Linked DNA regions of Homo sapiens: region 2 is linked to region 1. The links are contacts of gene promoters, found by promoter capture Hi-C in human tissues and cell types (Jung and others, 2019). All regions are on one chromosome and are shown on one strand. The core of a region is centred on a gene start or on the middle of the fragment in contact, and the rest is flanking DNA. Distances in the headings are between cores, read along the strand shown. Region 1 holds the start of METTL24 (methyltransferase like 24). Region 2 has its middle 79 kb from the start of GPR6.

Region 1 (3,306 bases), core at 243-2,742:
TCATGGGAAAACGGAAACTCAGAGAGGTCCAGTACTTCGTTGAAAGTCTCATAGTGCTTGAACGGCAGGGTCCTGGTTCAAACACAGTTCAAGTAAATAGTCACAGGATGTGAGGCTGGCTCTCAGTTTGTGTAAGGAAAAACTCGTACTTGTTTAAATTTGTTAAAATAGAACCCATCTGCAATATCCCCTGGACTCATCTAAGAAAAAAGCAAAAGTCAATCCTAATGGAACGTTCAGGAGCCTGAGGATCTGGTGTGGCCAGGGGGTGGACTAGACTGGGTGGAGATATTTTGTTACATGTAGAGAAACAGCCCAAGTGCTTTGTTCACTAGCAGGGAATAAATTGGGTCTTTCTTAAGCCAGGAAGAGAAGAGGATTTTAGAGACGAGGGCTTCCTACGGAAAATACCCAACATTCAAAAGGGCAGGGGGGTAGGGCCCCATATTTGTTCTCTCTTGTCCATGCTGTAGGCTGTTACGGGGGAAGAGGATAGGTCTACAGGCGCAGTCTCCCATGGAAGCATGGAAAATGCAAGAGTAAAGCAAGGAAAAAAAGAAAAGTGACTACAGCTTAAAAAAATCTAAACCCAAACTCAAACCTAAAACCCAAACCCACCCCAAATGGGTTGTGGGAAAGGATTCTACTAACAATTGAAAATGGAACATCCACCACTGGACTTCAGGCTGTGAGAGTTCAGTCTGATTAATTAAGGTCAAGGTGGTGATGGAAATACCAGCTGGGGAGCATTTTGCCGAAAGATAAATTTGTCCCTCTGTATTTCTGCGAGACAGCAGGGAGGTGTGTGTTTGGAGCTAAATTAATTTGATTTACATCATGCCATGGTAACTTCTGTTCTCTCTCCCCCCTCCTCACCAACCCGCTGTCAGATGTCTTAGCTGGCTTTTTCCCTCTTCTTCTTCACCCCCACACATTTCATAACACGGAAAGAAAGCACGAATTGGCTTCAGGCAGAATTTAGACATAGAATAACTCTAATTTGATTATTCTGCATTGAGTGCTATTCTCTTCGCCCCCCAATCCCTTTCTTTCTTGAGAGAGAGAGAGAAGTTGTAAGCCCGGGCATAAGTGCTATTTATTTTTATATTGTGCTTAATGGTGCAAACTGCTTGACTGTTCCTTGTATGCTCACCTACCCTCCTCCTGTGTTTCTCCAACAACACTAATACCAGAAAATGAAGTTATGGCCCGGGATCCCGTTAGGAATGCGCTTTTTCTGGCCCTATGTCTTTCAGCTCCGTCAGGCTTTGGAGGCCGGGGCGGAGGGCACCTCTTGAGGGACCCTGTACAGCCGGGCCCTGGCACCTCCGGAGGGGCGGAGAGGGCCCCCTGTGACCGCGTTCGGCCCACCACCGTTCCAGCGGCGGGGCGCGCTCGGCAGGGCAGGATAAGGTTACGCCGGGGCTTCCTCGGTCGGGAGGGAGGGAGGCGGGTCCGAGCCCGCACCCCGGCCCGCGGGGGAGTTCCCACAGTTGGCCGCTCCGGCCTGTGGGGCTACATCCCTGCTGCCGGCCAGGCGCGGCCCGCGGGACCCCGAGTGTAGCGCCATGGCCCGGGAGAGGCCGCCCGGGAGGGGCTGCGGCGTCCTGCGCCGGTGTCTACTCGGGGCTGTGCTGTTGTTCGGCCTGCGGCTCTGCGCAGAGCTGCGGCGCGCCGGGCCCGGGTCCCCCACCCGCAGCGCCCCGCCGGGCCCGGCCTGGCGGCCACCTGGGCCGCACCTGCCGCCCGCGCCGGGCCAGCCGCGCGGCGCCAGCAGGAGGCAGGTGACCTACGTGCGCAGCGGTCGCCGGGCGCCGCCGGGGGGCGGCGGGAGCGGGACGCCGGAGCCTGGCTGCTGTGCCCCGCGCGGGCGCCCCCGCCGGAAGGTCAGTTGCAAAGCGGTCGGTCTTGGGCCTGGGACCAGAAGCCCCCTCCCGACCGCGCTACGGAGCCCGGCGCTCAGGTCCCGCAGGCCGCCTCGATGGGACCTCCGGAGGCTTCCGCTTCTTCTCTTCCCCCTGTGCTCTCTTAGGCGGCTCCACGGGTCGCATCTTTCAGTGCCCAGATAGACTGAAGTGCGGCCAAGCGGAGTTCATTCACTATTCAGCCAGTACTTGGGGGTCGCCGTGGCCGGGCGCCCTTCTAGGCTCCGCGCATCCCGTGAAGAAGGACGGAGCCCTGTTCTCACGGAGGATACACTTTAGTAGGGGAGTGTTTGCGTGATAGGCAGGGAAAGGGAAAGGGAAAGGAAGGCGTTGTGGCTGCCATTGATGTGCTGTGCTGCTCCCAGCCTTCTGCTTAAGGCCTGGACAGAGTTGGGTGGGTATCGCCGTGAATGGCCTGTCCACGCCACTGCCTTCATCTCGCTGAAGATCCACCAGCTGGCCGAATTTCCCTGGAGTCTCATTCCAGGCGTTGGCTGGGGGCTGGGAGGCTGGCGCCAGTTGAGAAGCCGAGCACCCAGCCCCACTTAATGAGAAGTTAATTGGATCCTCGAGGACCCAAGTAATAACCTGGGTTTGTCTTATAACTCTCGACCGTGTTGTGCCTCCTACCTCATTAACTTCTTGGCTTACACCTCACTGATTAGTCCATTTTTAGCCTCTGATTGTTAAGGTTTTGGGCTCATCTCCTTTTTGGAGCTCGGTAATTTGCGTCGTACATGGAAATGAAAAGAACTACAGGTATGAGCTCTCCTCATCCTTTTACCCATCAACTCCTGCTTCCAGCCTCAACCACGTTCTCCAAAGCAACTACTTTCCGTTGCCCGGCTGTTCCTCGTTTCTTTTAGACATCCACCCCAACCTCCACCCCGCTTCCCATCACCGGTCCTGGAGGGGAGGGAACAACTCTTCCTTTGCCTCGCTGCTGTCTTCGGCTGCCCAGTGCTAGCCTACTTTTCAGCACCACAACCCAGCACTCCTGCCGGGCTTCACTTCCTCGCTTCCTTCGGGCCTCGCCCTCCGTTTTTCCACACCACTGCTGTTCCTTGCTGGGCCATCGTGCTAACTTCCTGGATAAACTGAAATACCTTTTTCTATCTCGCAAACCTCACCTCCTGTGTAAAGTCTTGATTAGATCTTCCAGAAGAAAGCAGCCACTTCCTCTCCAAGTTCCTAATTCACTGTCCGTGATACCATGTTAAACATTCAGCACAGTTTTGCCAAGGGCTTACCAGGTAGGCATCTGGTGCTGGAGGCACAAAACGAGTTCAGATTCTCGTGGGGGAGGCTCTTAGCACAGGCATCCGGTGATTTCCAATCCTGTAATTGAGGCCTTCAGCTCTGCCTGGGGAGTCAAGAAAGG
Region 2 (3,306 bases), core at 566-3,065, 300 kb after region 1:
TACAACAATATGCTGTCTTAGAAGCACACACTGAGGACAGTAAAACAGAAAATTGAGAATAAAATTATATAGAAAAATATATACCAGGTAATCATGAAGTAAAACAAAGTGTAGCAATATTAGTATCTTACAAAATAAGAATTTAAGGCACAAAATATCACAAAGGGTAGATGATAGACAATATATATTCATAAAAGAAGTAACAAAAAGAAAAGATACATCCATTTTGATCATATATATGTGTAATTAGAATGCCTCAAAATGTTTCGACCACTGAAAGAACTGCAGAGAGAAATAGACTATCCTATAATTGTAGTTATGGAAGCAGGTTGATCAAGCAGACAAAAAAAAAAAAAAAGAACAGAGATATCAAAGACCTACCAATGAAATGAAACAAGCAAAGATTTCAAGTACACATGGAACATTGACAAAAATATCTATCAGGCAATAAACTAAAAAACATATGCAGAAGTCAGTAAGAAAAATAGAGCTAAACAATCTCTTATGTTTGGAAACAGAACAACATACTAAATAGCCTTTCAGTGAAAATCATAAATTTTAAAAATATTAGAACTATATCAAAATTGTGGTATCCAGCTGAAAATTTCAGGAAAATTTAGGTTTTTAAAAATTTTTTGTATTTCTTTTTGAGACAGAGTCTCACTCTGTTGCCTAGGCTGGAGTGCCATGCCATGAACATAACTCACTGCAGCCTGGAACTTCTGAGCTCAAGAGATCCTCCTGCCTCAGCCTCCCAAGTAGCTGGGACTACAAGGCACACAACACAATGCCTGGCTAATTAAGAATTTAGTATTAAATACATTTATTAGGAAACACAATATGTTAATGATAAATGAAGTCAGCAATTAATGGAAAAATCACAAAAGAGCAACAAAGCAAAGAAAAAAGAAGGAAACCATTATAGGGCAGAAATAAATAAAATAGTGCACAACAAAATCAACTGAAAGGATTGGCCCAATTTTTTTTGAAGTATTAAAAAGAGATCTATAAAAAAAGGATTAAGAAAAAAATAAGACATAAATGAAAATACAGAATGGGAAGAAGGAGATCACAACACAAAGATGAGAAGAGCATAGAAGAGCACAGATACCCATCTGCCATTAGATTTGAAAGCCTAGCTAGATGAAAGAAAGAAATTCATAGAAAAATATGAGATGCTAAAATTGGTACAGGAAATAAAACTTGAACTAGGTCAGTAGAATTAAACAAATTGAAGTCAAAAGCCTACCTTCCAAACAAAAATCACAGGCTCAGTCAGTCTCCCAGGCGAATTTTACCAAACTTCAAATGGTGTGACACGTATTAAAAAGATGTCAATTATTATCCAAATCAAGCTGCATATCAAATGCAACTTTAATCAAAACTCCAGCTAGATTGTTTTTTGAGGCACTTGGTTAAATTAATTTATATAAAGACATAAAGATTTGTGACTAATCAACCTTAAAAAAGAGTGTAAAGATGGGGAGGGGGCTAATCCTACTAGATGGTGACATGCTGTGAAACCATAATTAATCTTTTAAGTGTAGTTTTGGAGTAAGAACAGACAAGTTGGTCAATGGAGAAGAATGGAGAGGTCAGGGACAAACACAGATATATGTGGAAATGAATGAAGGACAGAGGCGTTGCCACAAATCAATAGGGAAAGGACAGATTGTGTAGTAAAAATGTTATTAGGAAATCTGGCTCACTATATAGAAAAAAATAAAACTGGGTCCCTACTCTGTACCACATCGCTGGCATACTGGAAATAGACTAGAAACCAAAATGTTTTCTAGATAAAATTATAAAGTTAATCCAAGTAAATACAAGAGGTATCTTTATGACCCAGAAGCAGGGAAAGACTTTTTAAACAAAATTTCAAAAGCACAAATCACATTGCAAAACAACAACAAACAACATAACAACCAGCAAACAAACGAACTGAATTAAATCAAGATTAAACATTCCTGTTCAATAAAAAACACTAGGGACAAAGTTAAGATGGACAGATGACAGAATAGGAGAAAATATTTGCGATGTCTAAACTAGACCTGGGATTAATATTTAGGTTATACAAGAACTTCCTGCAACTAAAAAATAAAAAGAAGTTCCAATAGAAAAATGAGTAAAGTATAGGGACAGGCAATGTACAGCCACCCCAGAAGCTAATTATATAACACTACATAATACATATGAGGAGATGCTAAAAAATAACTAATTAGACAATGCAAATTAAAATGTGAGAAATTAATTTATACCAGTTAGCCTGGCAAAAATATGAAGTTGGATAATGCCAGTTTTTTATAAGAATGTGGGAACCAATATGCACTGATAGAGGGAAGGAGTGGCTGGTTCAGTCTTTCTGGAGAGAGCAATCTTGTCCCATTTAAAAAAGTGTAGTATATGCAACCCTATGCCCATCGAGTCTCTCCTGCATATTTATCCCGAAGAAACTCTCACCAGATCTACAAGGAGATTGCTCAGTACAGTTTGTTTGTTGGAGTAAGGAGTTGGAAATGAAGTTGGTGCCCCTCACGAGGAGAGCAGAGGTGACACGTGATGGGCACACAGGATGGGTTATTTTGCAGCAGTCATTCCCAGCCAAGTTACTATGAGATGGCAGCTTGGATGGATCTTGAAGACAGAATGCTCAATGAAAAATGTAACAAAGAGGCCGAGCACAGTGGCTCACATCTGTAATCTCAGCACTTTGGGAAGCTGAGGCAGGTGGATTGCTTGAGACCAGGAGTTCTAGACCAGCCTGGGCAACATGTTGAAGCCCTGTTGCTACAAAATACAAAAAAAAAAAAAAAAAAAAAAAGAGTGTGGTGGCACACTCCTATAGTCCCAGCTACTCAGGAGGCTGAGGTGGGAGGATGGCTTGAGGCTGCAGTGAGCAGTGATTGTGCCACTGCACTCCAGGCTGGGTGGCAGAGCAAGACCCTGTCCCCCCCCCAAAAAAAAAAAAAAAAAAAGAAAAGAAAAGAAAAGAAAAAATGTAAGAAAGAAAGCGAGCCACAGAATACAATACCACTCACATAAATAAAGTACAAGTATACAAAATAACAACATACATTTTATAGGAACACTGAAAAGCAAAATACACATACATAATCTGATGTAATATTTGCCTATGTGAAAGTGATAGGAAAAGAATGAGGGTGGGTTCTGTGGATGAAGGAATACATTTTTTTAAATGAACGAACAAATAAACAAAAAATGTGTGGAACTCATAAACAGCTGGGTAAAGTCATTTTAATGGATACAACGTTAAAGAAGTTTCTGTTTCATCATGTGAAGTTGATT

The links. Contacts are between HindIII fragments. The study calls those that stand out against the background at their distance.
Region 2: a contact is called between a fragment that was not itself captured here and the fragment with the promoter of METTL24 in region 1, in 2 of the 25 tissues and cell types used here (aorta and dorsolateral prefrontal cortex).

Annotation. Positions count from the first base shown.
Region 1 is chr6:110,356,535-110,359,840 of GRCh38, reverse strand. It overlaps METTL24 (methyltransferase like 24), which reads left to right and starts at 1,492. Exons shown (of 5, transcript NM_001123364.3): 1 at 1,492-1,886. The coding sequence starts at 1,569. The HindIII fragment of the contact is 11,777 bases long and covers 1-3,306 here.
Region 2 is chr6:110,056,081-110,059,386 of GRCh38, reverse strand. No RefSeq gene overlaps it. Among named protein-coding and RNA genes, the nearest start is that of GPR6, 79 kb to the right of the region's middle. The HindIII fragment of the contact is 6,154 bases long and covers 1-3,306 here.